3 separate regions of the Homo sapiens genome follow, and regions 1 and 2 are each linked to region 3. Evidence: promoter capture Hi-C in human tissues and cell types (Jung and others, 2019). All regions are on one chromosome and are shown on one strand. Each heading gives the region's core, a stretch centred on a gene start or on the middle of the fragment in contact. The rest is flanking DNA. Distances are from core to core; before and after follow the strand shown.

The links. Contacts are between HindIII fragments. The study calls those that stand out against the background at their distance.
Region 1: a contact is called between a fragment that was not itself captured here and the fragment with the promoter of SLC38A2 in region 3, in 1 of the 25 tissues and cell types used here (lymphoblastoid cells).
Region 2: a fragment that was not itself captured here is called in contact with the fragment with the promoter of SLC38A2 in region 3 in 1 of the 25 tissues and cell types used here (mesenchymal stem cells).

The regions. Positions count from the first base shown.
Region 1 is chr12:47,213,752-47,217,591 of GRCh38, forward strand. PCED1B (PC-esterase domain containing 1B) reads left to right here. Exons shown (of 4, transcript NM_138371.3): 3 at 2,471-2,938. PCED1B-AS1 (PCED1B antisense RNA 1) reads right to left here and starts at 2,692. Exons shown (of 3, transcript NR_026544.1): 1 at 2,633-2,692; 2 at 2,414-2,513. The HindIII fragment of the contact is 5,909 bases long and covers 1-3,840 here.
Region 2 is chr12:46,903,838-46,907,672 of GRCh38, forward strand. No RefSeq gene overlaps it. Among named protein-coding and RNA genes, the nearest start is that of SLC38A4, 80 kb to the left of the region's middle. The HindIII fragment of the contact is 3,394 bases long and covers 1-3,388 here.
Region 3 is chr12:46,371,490-46,375,001 of GRCh38, forward strand. SLC38A2 (solute carrier family 38 member 2) reads right to left here and starts at 1,284. Exons shown (of 16, transcript NM_018976.5): 1 at 1,020-1,284. SLC38A2-AS1 (SLC38A2 antisense RNA 1) reads left to right here and starts at 1,294. Exons shown (of 2, transcript NR_187299.1): 1 at 1,294-1,373; 2 at 1,824-2,289. RefSeq lists enhancers at 214-363, 444-773, 463-1,166, 1,024-1,103, 1,784-1,843 and silencers at 794-993, 1,194-1,533. The HindIII fragment of the contact is 23,415 bases long and covers 1-3,512 here.

The DNA.
Region 1 (3,840 bases), core at 200-2,699, 840 kb after region 3:
GATGGCTCACTGAGCTTTGAAACATGAGATAGGGCCAGAATAGCAATAGTAGCTGTCTACATAGAGCATAATAAGTTCTTGAAAGCAAGAAAATCAGTTGAAAATCTGTTGATCTCAACTTTATTTTAAGTTTAAAGAGTATAAGTGTGATTATCATTTGCATTATTACAGCTCTTCTGTTCTCTGGTCTTGGGATGATTACAGAGATTGTCCTTTTATTCTCACAGTGCACAGACTAGCTGAAATCTACAGAACTAGAAAGATTTGCAATTCATTTATAGAATTGCTAGAACTAAATAATGGCAGATTTTTCAAAGTTATGTAATAGACTACTCTGGATTATAAAATACTAAAGCTATCAGTTGGGTTCTGCCTTGATTCTATTAAATTTCCCGGTAATGACTGTACTAAAACTCATGGGGAACTGCAAGATAACTTTATTGATGGCCATAGAGGATGAAAACAATGCATAAGGTATGGAATTAATTTTAAGCCACACACTGAATAGACAGTGATGTAAAGTAAAATGATATTTTTCAAGGAAAGACAATTATGTCACATTATAATCCAGTTTACATAAATAGCATACTATTAAAAAAAGCTAAGTCTTCAGAGCATGTAATTCAGGACTGTTGTGAAACCTCTTACTCTTGTTGGTTAGTTATTTTGTGCTGTAAGGGAGGGAAAATGGCTTCCTCCCTACTTCTAGGTTCTTTGGCTGGGATACAAATTAAATTGACATAAAACAGATTAACAGGAGAAAAAAACATTTTTGGCCAGGCTCGGTGGCTCATGCCTGTGATCCCAGCACTTTGGGAAGCTGAGGTGGGAGGATCACTTGAGCCCACGAGTTCAAGACCAGCCTGGGCAACATATTGAGACCAAATCTCAATTCAAAAAAAAAGAAAAGAAAAGGAAAAAACATTTTTAATTATATGCACACACACTGGAATCCCCCAGGTAATAAAAGTTGTCTGAGAGCAGGACTCTTCCTGATACAGATACTTTGACTAATGTAGATTTCTTTTATAAATATAAATTTATTTTACAAAAGGACAGCTTTTCAGAGATACTCTTGTGTCTGCAGTTGCTCAGAATAATCAGCTCGAAATATGCCAAATAACTATATTTTGGGGTGGCATATTTTTTATTTTTGAGATGGAGTCTCGCTGTTGCCCAGGCTGAGGTGCAGTGGCGCAATCTCGGCTTGCTGCAACCTACGCCTCCTGGGTTGAAGCGATTCTCCTGCCTCAGCCTCCCAAGGACCTGGGATTACGGGAACCTGGGGGTGGTATATTCTGATCTTCTGTAGTCATGCACTGGGACCTTCTGTAGTCATGCATTTTCTCTCTCTCTTTTTTTTCTGATTCATTATTTCCTTTTCTTTTTCATCTTGGTATTTGTAGGGAAAGTGATATTCCTCTCCCCGAAATCATATTATTCCAGACAAAAGAAAACAAATGCCTACACTTATCTAATCAATCAGAAGACCATCTCCCCCACCCTTTTTTTTTTTTTAAAGATGGAGTCTTGCTCTTGTCACCCTGACTGGAGTGCAATGGGACGATTTTGGCTCACTGCAACCTCCGCCTCCTGGGTTCAAGCGATTCTCCTGCCTCAGCCCCCCGAGTAGCTGGGATTACAGGGGCCCACCACCACGCCCAGCTAATTTTTGTATTTTCAGTAGAGACGGAGTTGCACCATGTTGGCCAGGCTGGTCTCGAACTCCTGACCTCAGGTGATCCACCCGCCTCGGCCTCCCAAAGTGCTGGGATTACAGGCATGAGCCACAGCGCCAGACGAACCATCTCCCTTTTAAGCACGCTGTCCCCTTGAGTTACCTGCTGGTTTCAAGTGGAACACTAAGGGAGGAAGCAGAAAGTTCTTATCTTGCTCTGCCACATACTGGATCTAGCTGAGGCTGGGGCTCAGGCCTGTGGTTTCCTGTAGTGTGGACTGAGCCATTTTTCCATCAAGACGTCAGTGGAGAGATGAAGTGAAAGGATTTAAAAGCGGTTTGTGGCCTGCCATGGTGGCTCACCCCTATAATCCCAGCACTTTGGGAGGCCAAGGCGGGTGGATCACCTGAGGTAAGGAGTTCGAGACCAGACTGGCCAACATGGTGAAACACCATCTCTACTAAAAATACAAAATCAGCCGGGTGTGGTGGTGGGTGCATGTAGTCACAGCTACTCGGAGCCTGAAGCAGGAGAATCGCTTGAACCTGGGAGGCAGAGGTTGCAATGAGCCGAGACCATGCCACTGCACTCCAGCCTGGGCAACAAGACCAAAACTCCGTCTCAAAAAAAATAAATAAATAAAAATAAAAGCGGTTTGTAAACTGTAACACCTTGCACAGAAACACAAGATTACTACTATTAAATATTATTTAGAAAAGTAGAGTTCTTCTTACCATTTCCCTGTTTCTTTCTTCTCACTTCCTCCTTTCCCCTTCTGACCATCTTTTCAGCCGTGAACATACCACACCAGCAAGAACAATAAGAGCCAAGGGTCTGAATTGTTTAATCAAAGGAAGAGTCAAAATAAGCTACACCCAGATTACTGAGAAAGGTGAAATGAAAACAAGCTCAAAACCAAATTCCAGGAAGATGCTGTCTTTGTATTGACTTACCATTTCATGTTTTCACACATGTCAAAGTCTTGAAGCTTCGGTCATTAGTCTTCCGCTTCCTAAAGCAAGAAACTAAATGCTGACTTGTGTCGTTTGCCCCAGATGCCACCGGAAATGTCATCTTCTCCCCAGACGCTGGCTTGCAAGCACAGCAGCACCCAGAGGCTAACCTATTTCCCCTATAGCCCAAGCTCTGAGATCTCCCGTCTGGTCACAATGATCTACAGGAGAGGAAGAAAGCTATCTAGGGACGAGATCTAGAATCAACTGAGAGAGATGCTTAAAAATCACCAGTTACTTTAATGAGTAAGTACTTTTCAGTTTTTCCATTTTATCTGAAACTTTAAGTTGGCATTTCTGACCAGCCTTTCTTGAGACCATCATTTTTTGGGCACTTACTGTAGACAGGAATCAGCACCCTAGCCTCCTTCAGCCCACCCCATGTAACACTAAAGAGACAACTGGTGCTTGGCAATAACAAAAATATTAGTGATTGATAAACTTGTAAATTTATTAAAATGGACAGTGAAAGAAAACAGCCAATTTAGTTGTGAACTGGAGAAGGGACGTGAGGCATCTGTTGTCTGCAATCTTGTATGTTGTGGTTGACCACAAAGGCTTGGCATCAGGTTTTACTTCCAGCACTACTTCTTATAAAATGGATGACCTTGGGCAGATTACTCAATCTTTTAGCCTTAATTTTTAAAAGTATAAAATGGAGAAAATTAGAATATGTAGTCCAGGTGCGGTGGCCCACACCCGTAATCCAAGCACTTTGGAAGGCTGAGGCAGGTGGATTATTTGAGTCTAAGTTCAAGACCAGCCTGGACAACATGATGAAACCCTGTCTCTAAAAAAAACTATAAAAATTAGCCAGGCATGGTGGCACAGGCCTGTAGTCCCAGCTACTAGGGAGGCTGAAGTGGGAGGATTGATTGAGCCTGCAGAGTTGCTGCAGTGAGCCATGATTTCGCCACTGAATTCCAACTTGGGCAACAGAGTGAGACAAGAAAGAAACAGAGAGAGAGAGAGAGACAGAGAAAGAAGAAAAAAAAAGAAAGAAAGAAAGAAAGAAAAAGAAAGAAAGAGAAAGAAAGAAAGAAAGAAAGAAAGAAAGAAAGAAAGAAAGAAAGAAGAAAGAGAAAGAGAGAAAAGAAAAGGAAAGAAAGAAAGAAAATAATTTCTTAGGTTGTTTTTGTTTTTGTTTT
Region 2 (3,835 bases), core at 442-2,941, 530 kb after region 3:
GGATAGGGAACACACTGACTTTTATGAGAATTAAATGAGCTATTACATGTGAACTGCTTAGAATAGAATAATACCCAGCACATATCAGGTGCTCGGTAAATGCAGGCGATTATTACTGTTGTTATGGGTATTCTGTGGTAGAAAAGTCAATGCTGAATACTTAGCAACTGGCGTATATTTTTAGGGAGAGAAGCAGAACAAGTTTCAGTAGAGAAAAATAATGTCACTTCCTTTTAAAAATGTTAGTCAAAGATTGAGACTTTTTGTGTGATTAACAGCTGATTTCCTATGATTCTGGTGCAGTAATTCACATTCAAAACTGTAGACAAGTGTAGAGAGACTTTGAGAAAACTTCCATTGACTAAGGTAGCCTTAAGATCTGAAGGATACTTTGGCCTTTGGAAGTGGCACTATACAGATGTCTAGTCAGCTATTATCTGCTTTGCATGGTTATCAAACACATCATTAAGTACATTATTTCATTTATTTTAATATGCAGGACAAAATGTAGCAACAACAAAAAATGTGCTTAACGCAAACTGGGAAGACTCGTTCTTTTTATACTGACTCATTAAGCCTTATTAGTTTGGTAGTTTTGTGATTTCAGAACACCATAATTCTGAACCGGATTCCCATCTTGTATGGCTCTGTTAGAGGTTTTGCCTGCAGGGTGTTCTCTGGCCCTCTTTCTGAGTGTGTCTCCCTCTTTCTTTATTTCTGTCTTTTCATCAGTGATGCTCTGGGCTTTGGAAGCAGGCCAGAATGCCCTGAATCTTGCAATGAATGATGCTGCAAAAATTGCTAACATACCAATTTCAAGCATATTCCACAATTCAGACAAATATTCCTTGGGGCCTTGAGTCCAAATTTCTTTACATGCAGCCCATATCATGCCTCTGTACTCATTAAATCTGTTTTTCTCTAGCAGAGGCAGGTTAACCATGAAACTGAAGCTTCAAGATGACTTTACTTGCCCAGGCTCCTTCTAAGTCCTCACTTTCTCTTCTTTTTCTCTAAATGGAGCCCTCTGAATAAACAAGCCTCAGATTCCACTGGGTCTTACCCCGTGCCTAACCCTCTTCATAATAAATGCCTCAAGAAATTCAAGTAAGCAGAATGTTTGCTTTCACTTTGTCCCATTGTCACCCCGGTTCTTCCGAGCACTCAGCTTTCCCACCAAGCTTCTTTCAGTCGTCCTCGGGTGTCCTTTGACAATGCATCCTCTGCTTTTACACACTCTAGCGTTCCTTCACTGGGGTCTTTGCTGCCCCACACTGGGCAGCCAGGAATGTTGGGGTGATCGGGCCCGACATCAGGTCGTGGGGGCAACGAAGTCCGGTGGAGTCAAAGGAATGAGAAAGGACAGTTTCAGAGAAAAAGTGGGTCCAGGAGGCCAACACTAAGTATGGAGGCTGTGAAGTCCCTGAGCTCTGGAAGCCCAGACTATTTATTGGTGATCAAACAAAGAAACAGGGTGTGAGAATGTGGGGGTCGAAAGGGCAAGCACATGATCTACAGCTGTGACGGTTTAGCATTTCCTTTGCGGCACATGGAACATGTTCTTCTGCTTGAGATAATGGAAAGCAGGTTCTTTTAACTCAAGATACAGTCGATCCTGGGAGAGCAAGGAGCAAGGAGCCAGCAAGTCTAGACACATTCCAGAGCCATGAGCCCTGGATTCTATTCAAGCCATGAGGGGTTTTATGCCCTGGGCTTAGATTATGGTGTGTCAGGGTAGCCTTCCACACTTTAGCACAGAGCTTGGTGTTCCAAAGGCCACAAGGGGTTTTAGGCTCTGTACCCCAGACATGTTCCAAGACTCTTTTACATTATGTCAGACATGCAAGCCCTGCCTCAGCTTCTCCCAACACTCAGCTTTTCCCAACAGAGAGATGAGGATGGAACCCCAGAGAATATTAATATTAAGGGATTTTCAAAGAACTAGTGAATGAGGCTGAGATGGAGTAGCAGAGGCAGGAAGAAGCAGAGAGGACAACTAGCAGAGTGTGGGTCACAAAGCGGACAAGCCTGACATCACTTTTATGTCTCTTCCAACCCTGAATTATGAGAAGTTATAAAAAGAAATAAATCCTAAAAAAATTGAAAGTGGCAACTGAACTATAAATTAAAGATTAAAAAAACCATTTCCACTGATTTAAGTATTGATGGGGATGGATTGGGAAGTAAGATGGCTGCCAAGATTCCTGCTCAGTGGTGCACTTACCCTTTATAATCACCTCCCCTTGAGTGTGGTGGGACATATGAAGAAGATGGGTCTTACTTCCACATTGCCATTAAATTGCTTTTGATAAAATATTTTTGGGGATAATAGTTGTCTATTTTTTAATTTTTATGGATACACAATAAATAGTTGTAGTATTTATGGGATACATGTAATATTTTGATACAAGTATAAAATGTGTAGGGGTCAAATAGGGGTAATTGGGATATCTATCAGTTTAAACACTTCATTTCTTAGTGTTAGAAACATTCTAATTCCATGCTTCTTGTTATTTTGAAATATCCAATAAATTATTTTGAACTGCATTGCCCTATTCTGCTACCAAATACAAGATCTTATTCCTTCTGTCTGTATTTTTGTACCCACTAACCAACCCCTCCCCTCCTATACGCAACTACTTTTCCCAGTCTCTGGTAACCATCATTCTTCTCTCTGCATCCATGAGATCAACCATTTTAGCTACCATGTATGAGTGAGAACATGCAATATTTGTCTTTCTGTGCCTGACAACAATTAAGTCTATTGTCAATGAATGTTACATCTGATTTATACAAATGGGTAAACAATTTTTATAGAGAAAAAATCTTGAGATATAGTATACAATTATCCTGACTTCTAATATACCAAGAATAACAAGTGAAAAGATTCAGTAAGTCTGGAGTAGGGTGTAGAGAGCTGTACTGCTATAACACTTTATAAGTAAGTCTTATGTGCATCCCCAATTGAGAGCTACTAGACTAGAAATACTACATTAAAATTAAAAGAATAAGGTTTCATCCAAGTACAATTTTAAATAATTACTAATATTATTACTGATTATGCAGTGGTTGCCTGAAATCATCAGCTCATTAGACAGGTAAAGCACTACCAGGATTCGTAAGTATAGGAAAACCTGACACAATTATTTCTTAGAGTTTTTATCAGTGTTATTCCTTAGGGTTAAAATATATTGTGGACAGTGAAAATATTGACAAATACCAGGGCTTCACCATAAAACATACAATTTCTGATAAATTAATATTAATAAAATTTTACCTATACAATGTTAGCACAGGGATGGCTAAATGTCTCTCTTGATTTGACAAATCTTCCCATGCAACTCATCAAACAAATCTAGTTAATTTCCAGCATCTCTCTTTTTATAAACTAAAAGAAACAATATCTGTAATTTTCCAGGGGCTATCTGGGAAATCTCAAAGATAGTTTTAGGTATAAAAGATGGCCTGAACGTTTTGTGGGCTTTTTTTTTTCTATATTTAGGACCCCTTTTTTAGAAAGTTAAAAATTTTTTTAATGCCAGAGGAAATTTGGACAGTTGGTTAAGATAGAATCATAGGTGTCTTAGAAACAATACTTGGTTGTCTATTTGATCACAGCAACAATAAGATGTATATAAAAAATAAACATGGATGGTAACAAAATTGAGAACCTTAGCTCTTTCAAAAGTTAGACTGAGGGCACAGCAGGATGGCCAGTAGAAGTCTCCACAGATCATCCTCGCAGCAGAAACACCACCTTTGACAACTATCTACACACAAAAAAAGCACCTTCATAAGAAGAAAAAATCAAGTGAGCAATCACAGTACCTGGTTT
Region 3 (3,512 bases), core at 34-2,533:
AAGTACCAGCCGCGCGCGAGGGGCGGGGGCGCGCCGAGGGGCGGAAAAGTACAGACGGCGGAGCCGCGGGGAGAACAAAGATGATGCCACCGCTGTGTTGCGGCCGTCGAGGCCCCCTACTCCGGCAGATTTCAGTATTTCACCCTCTCTATTGTCCCTCGTCGGAGTGGAGGGGGCGAGGGGGGGTTCTGTTTTGCTTTTTCCCAGTCGCTCCAAACTTGCACAGGCACTCAGGGCACACATCCAGCCCCGACCCTGGCTCGTGTGCATGCAACCTAGGCGCACGGCTTTCCGTTTCTAGCATTTGGAACAGCAATGCTGCGTAATCTGTCCTTTACTGCCCGGAGTCCCCACACGGAGAAATGCCTCTGCCGCAGACAGCCTTCCCCAGGAGGCGGAAAGGGCCGACACTACTCCTCTCTCGAGGGGGGCGAACGCCCGGGCCCCGGGAGCTGGGGGTTTGTTTACACACGCGCGCCAGTGCCCTCAAGCACACCCGTCCACAGGCAGCTGGCCCGCGAGTGCTACGCCCGCCCAGCCCCTCCTATGTCCGGAAAGAAAACTGATGCAATATCGATCGTCGATTGTCAAATGTTCCCAACTCGTCTTCCCCAATCTTGGCCTCTCCTGTAATACATGCCCAAGCCCACCTCCGCCGCCCCCAGATTCCTGGCTCCCTGGACTTAATTTTTTTTTTTTATTAAATGCAAATCAGTCACAAGACTTGCCGCAGCAGAGCCGCTGGCCGGGCTAGCTCCCCTCCCCCTAATGGGAAGATGCGGCTCCGCACCGTGCAGGCACGCGGCCCCCGCCCAGCGCCCGCTCTCCTACCCACGTCGCGGGCGCGACACCCGCGCGGCGGGCCAGGGTGGAAGGCTGGCCAGCCCAACCGACAACGCCCGCCTCGAAAGGAAACGGACCCCGCGGCCGCCTTCCCGCGCGGCCCCTCCCGGAAGCCCCTCCCCCACTCTCGCCCGGGCCCCGCGCCCTTCCCACAGACGCCCCCCCGCACGCGTTACCTCGGTGGTCTCTATTCTCACGCAGACGTCTTCAGTGGGTTTCTCTCAGTCAAATACAAATCATAAAAAACAAACAAAAAATTTCCCCAAATCCAACAACAGGCAGGAAAAATAATTTTAATAAAAAAGGAAAAGACAAATTGCCGCCCCAATCCTCCGGCGTCCGCCGTGTCAAGGGAAAGGCGCGAGCGTGCGGTAACGCGTGGTCGGGCTGCTGCTAGCAGTACTGGAAAGGCGTTCTAAGGCGGCGGCGTCGCGCGGCTGTGGAGCAGCCCTGCGAGCGGCGGGTTATAGCGGCACCCCGGGGACGCGTCAGTGGGCGGGACCGCGGCCGCCCGGGCGCCTTCTCTTTGTGTATCAACACCACCTGGGCCCCGCCTCCGACCCGCCCAGACCTAGGCCCCGCCTCCCTGCCCCTCCCTCTGCGGCCCGCGCCCGCGGCCCAGCCCCGCCCGCAGGCGCCCCCAAGACTCTCCCGCAAAGCCCAAGCCCACTCTCTCCAGCTTTCTAGATAGTCTGGAAAGACCCCCAGATGCTTCCCCTGCCTATCCTTTTCAGCCAGGGTTGGTGCTCAACACATGCGGTTGTCTTTGAGGAGCCATCTCCTTAAAATTTTCTCCTGTCCGAGTCACCAGCAGTCCTTGCTTTCGGGGGACACATCAAGGCTTTTGGGGGACACCACCCTCCCACCAAACACTTTCTTGATTGTTATTTTTGTGATTTACAGTGAAGTTTTGTCTCACAAACTTGGGCCAAGGCAGCAAGGTTGTCCTGATGGTTTGTTGTTCTTTCTTTTCCACCTAGACCTGCTTTCACTCTTCAAAACTAGCCGGAGGTCGGCGAGCAGCTCCTTTTCGGGATGTGCTTTTTGTACGGCCATGGAAACTGGACTAGCGGAAAGGCTACCTTTTGGCCAGCAAGCCAGGCCCCTTAGAAAGAGGCCCCAGTGGGGAGCCCGGCGCTCCTAAGGCCGTTTGGGAGTCCCCAGTTTTCCACTCGCTGACACGTTGCTTCTCTTATCCCACCACCGCCGCCCCGGGCAAAGGCACTGCCTTGTCTGAATGCGGGTCTGAGGCGCTTTCTGCGGAGCCTGGTCCTTTCCCTTCAATGGTGATGTGTGTGGTCTTGCTGAGCCAGGCAACTAGGGGGACCCTTCGCTGTGGAAAAATTGGTGCTGCGGGAAAGGCAAGACTCACTCCCTTGCAGGAAACAAAGACCCCTTAGGAGAGAGAAATGTTCATGGAATGAATGAATAAACAAGTTTGACCTACTGCTCTCTTCCTTTTGGGGACTTGGGAGAAATTGGGCAGGGCATAGAGGAAAGGGCTGGGTGTGATCGCAGTTTTTGCTTTCAATGTTTTACTGAGGAAATCCGTACAACTGCCTATTTCCGCCGCACGTGAGGCTTCGGGTGCCCTCGCCTGCACCAGTGTTTATGATTGACAAGCGAGGTCCCGATTTCCCCCATCACACTCCTGTGTTCCCTACCCCAAACCTTCTACTCTGTTCAGGCCAGTCTTCCCTACCGCAAACCTTCTACTCTGTTCAGGCCAGTCTTAAATAATAGCCATTCTTGCTTTGGTGTCCAATCTCCTCTCATCCCCTTAAATGCCGCTGTCATGCAAGGCTTAGTCTTCGAGCCACAGGAAAGCGCCCCGCATGCCTTAATCCCTCCGTACTCAGCCCTCTTTTTGCAGGTACTATTTTCTAAAACAATATGGTGACGGACTTTTAAAAATCCGTGCTGTCATGCACTCAAAATCGTTCCAGACTATTTGTAGTATCATCTGCCCAAAGATTGTGAACTCCCCAAGGGCAGGTTTGGAATTTGACACACAATTAGGGCTGAAAAAACTATCTTCCTTCCACATACATTCCCCAATAAAATCAATCAACTCTTCTTGTCACAACAATCTTGGTAGTGGTAGGTTAGAGAGGAGTCCCAGGAAGTTTCTTTATATTAGGTTTCAACTGATAACAATCAAAAGGTCTTAAACCACTTTTTCATTCCAGATGAATCTCTGGTCGTTTCCTCTGCCCAGTTAGAGGTGCTAAGGAGGCCCTCAGGGTTGGTAGTTATGGGTGGCAAGTGGCACTATAAGTAAATCTCATGTCTTTTGGACTTTTTGGTGGTTTGTATTGCAACACATATTTAGGAGAAGCACAATACCTGTACAGCTGAGGGCAAAGTGGAGGGCAGGGGCGGGGGGGGGAGCTGCAATATTGATCTGGTCTCTGTATGATCAGAACTTGAACAGTAAATGACAAAAAAAGAAGGGTGGAGGGGTGAAACTTCCATGTTTTTATTGCCAGTTTGATTGGTCTTTTCGAGGGCCAAACTGAGGCATGCCTGCTAACTCCATCAGACTTCCAACTGAGGCCTGATGTGCTCTGAGCAATTGCTGTTATGCTTTGGGCTTGAATGCATTGGACACAGTGTCCTCATTCAATTTCTGGGAAACGATATTGCCAAATACCTATTGGTCAGTGCGC